Regions from separate parts of the Homo sapiens genome. Here region 1 is linked to region 2. Evidence: promoter capture Hi-C in 16 types of primary human blood cells and fetal thymus (Javierre and others, 2016). All regions are on one chromosome and are shown on one strand. Each heading gives the region's core, a stretch centred on a gene start or on the middle of the fragment in contact. The rest is flanking DNA. Distances are from core to core; before and after follow the strand shown.

The links. Contacts are between HindIII fragments. The CHiCAGO score rates a contact against its expected background, and 5 or more counts as called.
Region 1: a fragment that was not itself captured here is called in contact with the fragment with the promoter of YTHDC2 in region 2 in 1 of 17 cell types (fetal thymus); the score reaches 5.4 in fetal thymus.

What each region holds. Positions count from the first base shown.
Region 1 is chr5:115,174,106-115,178,384 of GRCh38, reverse strand. It overlaps a transcript of TRIM36 not described here. Among named protein-coding and RNA genes, the nearest start is that of TRIM36, 6.3 kb to the right of the region's middle. The HindIII fragment of the contact is 2,882 bases long and covers 717-3,598 here.
Region 2 is chr5:113,511,540-113,515,955 of GRCh38, reverse strand. It overlaps YTHDC2 (YTH N6-methyladenosine RNA binding protein C2), which reads right to left and starts at 2,262. Exons shown (of 30, transcript NM_022828.5): 1 at 1,874-2,262; 2 at 594-684. The coding sequence starts at 2,060. It overlaps LOC124901046 (a long non-coding RNA gene), which reads left to right and starts at 2,298. Exons shown (of 2, transcript XR_007058905.1): 1 at 2,298-2,525; 2 at 3,016-4,097. RefSeq lists a silencer at 1,777-2,006 and enhancers at 1,959-2,460, 2,457-2,506. The HindIII fragment of the contact is 3,291 bases long and covers 281-3,571 here.

The sequences.
Region 1 (4,279 bases), core at 908-3,407, 1.7 Mb before region 2:
GGGAATGCCTAACAGGGGCATCTATTTGGGAACGTTGAGGGGCTAGGGGGCAGGGAGGAAAAAGAATGCCTTTGGTTGAACAAAATAAATGGACTACTCTTGATAGGATGGAGAATAGGATGATCGATAGGTGAATTTTGTCCTATGGCGCTCAGATATTCTTCAAAGTAAGCCAGAATTGTATTAGTTGGCTATGCTTTCCTTCAATAGCAGACAAATCCTGAAATTCTGAGAGAATAATTTCGGGGTAGGACCCAGGGATTTGCATGTGAAGAACAGCCCAGGTGACCATGAAGCCGACTGATGGATGTCCTATGAACACGAAATGGGGAAGTAGGGCAGAACCATTAAAACTCCTTATAATCAAGTCAGGTAAACAAAAACAAAACCCTCTCAGAATACCAATGGGTTCATCACAGTATGCTCACTATAATGAAAAAACACAAACTAACTTTCTGGCTTCATTTACTGGATTTCTCTGCTCTCTCTCTCTCTGTCTCTCTCTTCACTAGGCTTCAGCAATGGGCCTGCAGCAAACCCATGAGCATTCCCGGTTGACTTCTAAAGGTGGAGAGGCCCGCTGTCCCTTTGAAATCTCTGAGGTTGGAAAGCAGTCTCTCCCAAGAAGAACTTAGGACAATTCCTCTCTCTGTTTTGTGGGGGTTGGAGGGGGAGAGTTGGTCTGGAGTAGGCTCCTAACCATTTCAACGTAAGCTTATTTCCTACCACTCTCCTCAGGCTCAAATCCTGCCCCGCCCCGCAGCCCCAGCACTAGCCCATTTAAGACCCCTGTTTTGTGTGTGATTATACAGGATTTGAACACTGAATATTAACCATGGAATAGCAGACCTTTGAGACTGACTTGCTTTATTTTCCTCTGTGGGGTTCGGTTCCACTTTGTAGTTCGGGTTTGTAATGTAAAGAATAATGGGAAACTGGTCTAATTATGAGAGTTAAGAGAGTAGAGGCCTGTAGTTGGCCTGCCCTCCGCCCCACCATCCCTCAAAGTTGAGACCACTGAGTTAACCATCCTCTTAATTTCTCTCACTTTTCCCCCAGATTTGTTTCATCCTTGTACTGGACTTCTCAAGCTCTGTACATAATTAAAAATACATAGCTTTACATTTTTACAAACTTAATACCTGGAATATATGCTTGTTGTAAAGTATTCAAACTTCACAGAAAGGTTCACAGAGTAAAAAGTCTAAGTTCATGCCCACCTCCAATCTCATTCCTTCCCCAGTGGCAGCAGTTTGTGTGTCTATTTCAAATTAAATTAGCATACCGTATGTTCTCTGAAATGTGGGAAGTAAGCCTTTTTTCTTAGGGTAACCTAAAACCTACAGGACAAACTGGATCAGCTTATTTACTCTATTGTGATGGCTACTTTAATATTTAAAGTACACAGTGATATCTGCCATTGTGACCTTTCTGCTCATCAAACAATACTGCATAAGTGTAGTTAATACTTACGATCATTCTCAAGAGGCTTAAAAATGAAAATGTATTTCCTTACATTTCACTAGCAGTGAAACTTTTACCATTTCTGAAAGCTGTCTTTTCGCTTCTTTTGCAGCTAATCTCTTTGGATTAAAAGAGAGGTTTCCAAATCTGTGGTCAATATCTAAGGTTACTCAAAGCAGTATTTTCCAACTGTTTTGGTCTCTTGTAAGATTTGCCTCACTAATTTTTTTATCACCGCTTCTGGAATCATATAATGAAGATTTGATGACAAGGAATATAGAATTCAAATTTTAGTATATCTCTTTGTATTTTGTGTATTTAGCATATTTACATTTATGTGTAAATAGCCAGAAGGTACATTCGGTTCCCATAATTTAATATTTACTGTTCAGGCACATCTAAGAGCATAATGGTTTCAGCAAAATAAGAGAGGCTTTGTAAATCTTATATTTAATTTTGATACTGAAATAGGCAATGATACCATTACTTGGTGAATTATTTTAACTTTGAACATCTTTGAGGCACAAAAAATTCAAGAATTTTTACAAACACAAACTTTACCTTAAAAAAAGAAGACACTTACACTCTGAAAGAATTAGTCTTGGAAAGTCCTCAAATCTAGACTAATAAAAGGTCTTAAACATCTCCTGGGACCAAAACAAAAATACCACCAAATGATCTCTTTCAGAAGGACGAATAGATAGTTGCTCACACAACTAAAATCTAAACTGGGGTGATAATGGTAAGGTTGTGCCCACTGCATAAGTATTTTTATTTTTATTTTTATTTTTTTTTGAGACACAGTTTTACTCTGTTGCCCAGGCTGGCGTGCAGTGGTGCAATCTCAGGCTCACTGCAACCTTCACTTCTGGGTTCAAGCGATTCTCCTACCTCAGCCTCCCTAGTAGCTGGGACTACAGGCACACGCCACCATGCCCGGCTAATTTTTTGTATTATTAGTAGAGACAGGGTTTCGCCATGTTGGCCAGGCTGGTCTCGAACTCCTGACCTCAAGTGATCTACCTGCCTTAGCCTCCCAAAGTGCTGGGATTACAGGGGTGAGCCACCGCATCCGGCCTACAAAGTATTTTTTAAAGGTTTTTTAAATATATGTATTGAAATTGGGTGAAATGTATGTGCTGTGGGGAGTAGGGAAGGCAGGCAGAAGATTTAGATTTTTGTAATATCATTTGAAAAGAGCTACTTTCATAAATATAATTTTCCTCTTATTTTTTTTTACTATATTGCGCTAAAGATAATTTGAAAAAAAAAGGTGTCTCCTAAACTACTTTGTAAAAGGATGTTTAAATCAGATTTTTAGTGAAATTGTAAATTCTGTGTTGTATACTCACCTGTGGGCAGTGCAATAAGGATGCTGGACTGAGACCCAGGTTTGAATCCTGGCTTTTTAGTATATGGCCATGTAGTATATAGCCCATAGATTAAGCATATTACTTAATCTATGGGCGGAGGTGGAGAGGAATTTTAGTTGTTACATGTCTTCTCTGAAAAGAATTATACCTATTTCACAGGGTTACTGCAAGGGTTAAATGAATCTTTTATGCAGGTTTCCTAATACTGTTATCGACACATCATAGGCCCTCAATAAATGAAAGCTATTACTTCTAGCTTTTATGACAACAGGGTTGGGCCTTGAGACACCTTATATCCACATTGTGATCATTAAGAAGTGGAGGTAGGGCTGACAGATAAAATACAGGATGTAGACTTGAATTTGAATTTGAGATAAATACTTTTTTTTTTTTTAGAATATGTGCAATGTGATATTTGGAACATATACTAAAAAATTATCATGTATCTGAAATTCCAATTTAACTGGGTGTATTGTGTTCTTATTTACTAAATCTAGTAACCCTACAGGGAAGAATAATAAGATGTGGTCAACAGAGAGGGACCTGCTAGATTGCCTCAAAATATTACCAGTTTTGTTTACCTCAAGTTGGCCAGAAAACTTCTTTGCCCACTAGTTATGCAGCTAATACACTCATCATTAATGGAAAAATGTCCGTGAGAGCAGCACTGGGTTCCTCTCATCTTCCTAATAGCAAATTGTTGCTCTGGTGCTACTGTTTAGTAGATAAATGCTTACTAGATTTTGTCTTAAATAAAAGCTTAAATGGTCGAGAAGACAAAACATCAAACATCAGTGTACAAAGACTAGGTATTTGTGTTAAACTGAGTGCTAAAAGAATTCAGAATAGAGGGAGATAATCAATGAAATCAAAACTAATAAAGGAGGCTCCAGAAGTGCAACTTGAAAGATGAGGAGGATTTGGCCAGGTAGTGGAAATCTGAACTTGCTGGCTCTCTGGACTCCTCTCCCCTGACTTTGTTCCCATAGAAACACTTTATGACTGGTAAGCTTGGCCTGTCAGTAGCTTGAGTCAATAATTGATAGACAATACCATTCATTATCCCTTTACTGGTAACCTCCTGATACCCAGCAGTATAGGTGGTCCGTGTGCCAATCTACTGGAAAACCCTGTAATTTACTTTATTTCTGTACTTTTTATTTTCTGTAAGTCCAGGTGCTCTCTTGATTTTATACCTATGGCTGCTTAATTATTAGGGGTTCCCAAAAGGGGGCAGAGTTTAGGGAATATGTGGCCATATTACCTTGTTTCTATTTCTTGTTTAGTATATACCAATAGAATGGTGGTACCCTGCCTGTCTGATCTCAGAGCAAACCAATTAATATGCACCATGGTCATTAGGACTTGACCCAGCCATGAATTTAATCTCTTGTTGGGTATTAGGAATCAATATGGAAAAAGACCAAGTCAGCTTATGGAGT
Region 2 (4,416 bases), core at 1,013-3,512:
GGACTATTCTTAACAAGAGAAACCACTCTAGACTCTTAATAGAGACAGCACCAGGGGAACCTACATAACCAACCTTGCTAAAAGAACACATATCTTCCATTAGTTTCCCCACATATACCTTCCCACAATTTACTGCACCTACAAGTTCAAAGTCCTTTTCCTTTGTCTTGTCATTTTTTAAATAAATTCATTGTTCTTTATTAAGATGCCACATAAGCCCCATGTTTGAGTTACTATCGAGTTCTCCCCTATGTATGCATGATGCATGTCTTAATAAGCTTATGTTTTTCTCTTGTTAATATGTCTTTTATCAGTCTAATTTGCAGGGTCCCAGCCAAGGAACCTAAGCTGGGTAGAAGAAAAAGCATTTTCCTAGGGAAAAACAAAACAAAACAAAAAAGGGGGGAAGAGGTAGACAGAGGGAAGAGGAAAGAGTTGAATTTGGTACAGACCTGAATCTTTTATCTACATATGATACAATTAAGAATGTGAAGTTAAAACAGTAATAAGTACTTAAATGTACTCAGAAACGTTTCTCCCTTTTTTGGGCAAATAATCTTTTTTAAAAAAAATAAGAAAAGCTACCAGCTTACCCTTTACTTTTAGAGACCAAACCAAGAGACTGACTGAGTCGATGAATAAAGGCTCTTTCAGTACTGGTCAAAGAAGAAGGAAATTCCATTTCTACACGGAAAAAAAACAAAGTAGTAAAATTTGTAGATAGGCAATTTTCTCTCAAGTAAAACACACAGATACAAAATATGAAAAACATACATAGACAATCAAATTTATTATACTTTATTTGAGGTTAACTTTATATTTCATATTCTATTTATGTAAATTAATAAAATTAAGATATTTTATTAATTCAATAACTACTGAATGTCTATCAGAATTCTGATATTAATAAAAAGACAGCTATGTATTAAACCTAAATGTGATAAAGGCCTCTGATATTCACCAAAAACGACTCCTCTTACTTGTTCTGGAATTTTGAGTTGGTATAATGACTGAACATATTTAACTTGGTCCCTACTTGTTTAGTTAACAAAATGTTTATTTTCTTCAATGATGAGATATGTTCAAATATTATGAATTCTCAACATGAAACTCCATTGTCTTTGCTTTCAAAACTGTACAGAATTCGTATTTCACTATTTCAGAGGGATTTGTTATATATTGCTGAGGCTTTCTCTTTTTTTAATGTGAATTTAGAATCTCTCTGTCTAGAACATTCCCCGTTTTGGACTATAAGATTCCAGAGTAAGAGGTCCCCTAACTAAGCCAGCAGGTCCGAATGAGCCCTCAACAGACTGCACAGGTCACCGCAGGTCAGTTGCTGGTTCTGCATTATATGACCCAAGACAAGTGGCTATCTAACCTCAAGAGGTGTGGAAGATGCTTCGTGTGCCAAACAAGTTTAATTTAAGTGGGTAGCGTGATGCTTCAGGGTCCAAACGTATTGCTGGTGCATTTATTTATATGTTTGATTTCTTTCTGCTCTTCTACATCTGTAGCTTAAACGTGCCACAATTAGGTGACACCCCCTTAAAAAGGGTTAGGGCTAACCAATATCTGAAACACGGTGGCTTAACCGCCCAAGGCTGCTGAAAGACGCGGGGGAAAAACACTTTCAGCTAGGGAGCAAAGTGCCCATAACCCCATTGATCCGCAGAGCACCTCGCATTCCACCGCAGGGCCAACAGCCGCGTTCCAGACCCGGGTGCCGCCGCTGAGGCCCGCCCCGGACGGTGGCCCGGGTCTTCCCTCCCTCTTCGGAGGCACCCCCATCACTCGGTGGGCCGCCGTTTGGGGGGCGCTGGGGTGAGGGGGGTATCCTGACTGCCAGCATGGTCCCTGTCCGGAACCTCACCTCTCTGGTCCCCGTATCGGAAGCGCTCCAGCGCGATATTGACTGCGATCTTCACCTCCTCATCAATGCGAATGTCCTTCAGCCCCTTGGCCCGGCCGCCGCCCCCAGGGCCACAAGGCGAGGGGCCGCCGCCTCCGCCACCGCCAGGAGCCGGCTGCCGCGGGGAGACGCTGCTCGGCCTGGACATTGCCCTGAAGAGATGGTCTCTCCGCACGGGAGCGGCCAGGCCTGCTAGCTGACAGCCAATGACAAAGACCGTGGGAATCCGGGGCCACTACCGGGAAGCTCCGGAGACGGCCTGTGTTGGGCTGAGGTCACCAGAAAGGCCTCAGTCACCGCCACAGCAGAAGTGAAGCCTGCGCCATTGATATCACGGCCAGGCGAGGAGCGCGGGCGTAATGACGTCACCAGGGCCGGCGCCCGTGACCTCAGCGCGGCCGCCGCTGCGCGCCTAAAGGAGGCTGTCTGCGGAGCTATGGTGCGGTTCTCTTCCCGCGCCGCCCACCAAGGGTCGCTCCTCATCTTCTTATTCACTCACTTGCTACTTCGTTTAGTCCTTCATTAATTCCTGCAGTAAGCATGTATGGGCTTCTACTGTGGACCTGGCATTATGCCACGCCTTCGATGTACATTGGAGAACCAGAGAGCCAAGGTTCCTACCTTCATGGAGTTTATATTTTAGTGGGAGGAGGGTTGCCAGATTTAGCAAATAAAAATACAGAATGCTTAATAATTTGCATTTCAGATAAACGAATAATTTTTAGTGTATATATTTCCCATGCAATATTTGGAAAAATATCATAAAAAATACATATACTAAAGAATGAGCCACTGTTGTGTGTCTTGCATTCTTCCCTTTTCTGAATGGGAGATTTTAATGCAAGTATGCCACCCTTGCTCTATCACGCTACACAGGGTAGCTGAGTGGGGGCAGGTATGTAGTACATATTTACATAGTTCATGAGTTACCTGGCAATGAGGATATACATCTGGATCTAATAAAGAGGACTGTGTATCAACAACAGATCCTGGATGCAGTGACTAGATAGAATTCCAGGTGTCTGGGGAGGGTATATGTGTATTCTGTGTGTGGTAAGAAGGGGGCGGAATATTTGGTGACAAGAAGTATCTTTTCTTCCTAGGCATTATATTTCCCAACTCTCCTGCAGTTAGCTGGGGGCCACATGGCTGAGTTCCGGCCATTGGAATGTTGCTGGAACTGATGTATACCACTTCCAGGATTGGTCTATAACACCTTCCTTGAATCTTCCCTTCTCTGTCTTTCCTGGTCTTCTGGAAGTTCTTAGACAACGGTGGAACCACTAGATAGATAACAGGTTCCCGATTCCCTGAACGAGTGTGATAGAGTGTCCTCACCAACCCACATTGGAATATGACATGGGTAAGAAATAATTCTTAGTTGTGGTAAACTGCTGAGATTTGGGAAGATTTTTTTTTGTAACATTATGGTAAATTGTTGAATTCATCAAAGGTATGGCCTTTGATGAATCACACATTCCTCTGTTCACACCCTTGTATTCTTCCTTCCCACATGGACTCTGTCTTTGGCTATGTAACTTGCTTTGGCCATTGGGACATCAGCAAATACGAGATAAGCAGGGGCTTGAAAGGTGTTTGTGCATTAAGGCTTAGCCTGTTTTGCTGCTGAGAATTCTTCTTCCACAAAGTAAAGAAGCTTAGGCTAGCCCACTGACAACTATGGCCCAATCATCCACCAGCACCAAGGGCAAGACGTGAAAAAGGCCATAATGGAAAGTCTAGTCTTAGAAAAGCTGCTGGATGACCACAACTCTGTAAGCAACCCAAAGCAAGATTAGCAAAACCACCTAGCTAAACATAGTCCAAACTGTTGACCCACAGAACACATAAACAAATAAAATGAATATTGCTGTAAGCCACTAAGTTTTAGGTTGGGTTTCTTACACAGCAGTAGATAACTGATACAAAGAGTTAGCTTATTCTGACTAATATATTTGTACAATGATAAGGCTGATCTTGGGCATAAGTGACTAGGCTGAAAGAACTAGCTTCACCCGTTCCAGTTTGTACCCAGTTGCCTAAGAACTGGGGTCATCAACATCTTGATATGCCTGTAAACAACTTGTGGCATACGAGCATGCCACAGCACAGTGGTCTGGAGACTGCTCTCTTCTCATCTATAAAATTGACCTGGTAGAGTAATAAAGTCTTAAAATATAACCAACATGATTTTATTATTGATGCTAGGGATATTTCCTCCCACCCTTTGCCCCCTCATCACCCCTACTTTGCCAGCCCTCCATCCCTTTCTCTCTTGTTCAGCCAGGTCATTTAGGGGTTATTATTTGGGGAAATATTGTCTTAAGTTGGTTTCGGTTCTCTGGAACTGGAAAAAGTCACATAGTAATACACCAGTAAGTTGCCAAAAAGGATCCTGAGCCCTGCTTCTCTTGGGGAGAACAAAACAAAAACCCTGAATGGTGTGGGAGATCCTGGAACAGAATGGCCTGTGCTACTTTCCCAAGGGAAGGCCAGAGAGGCAG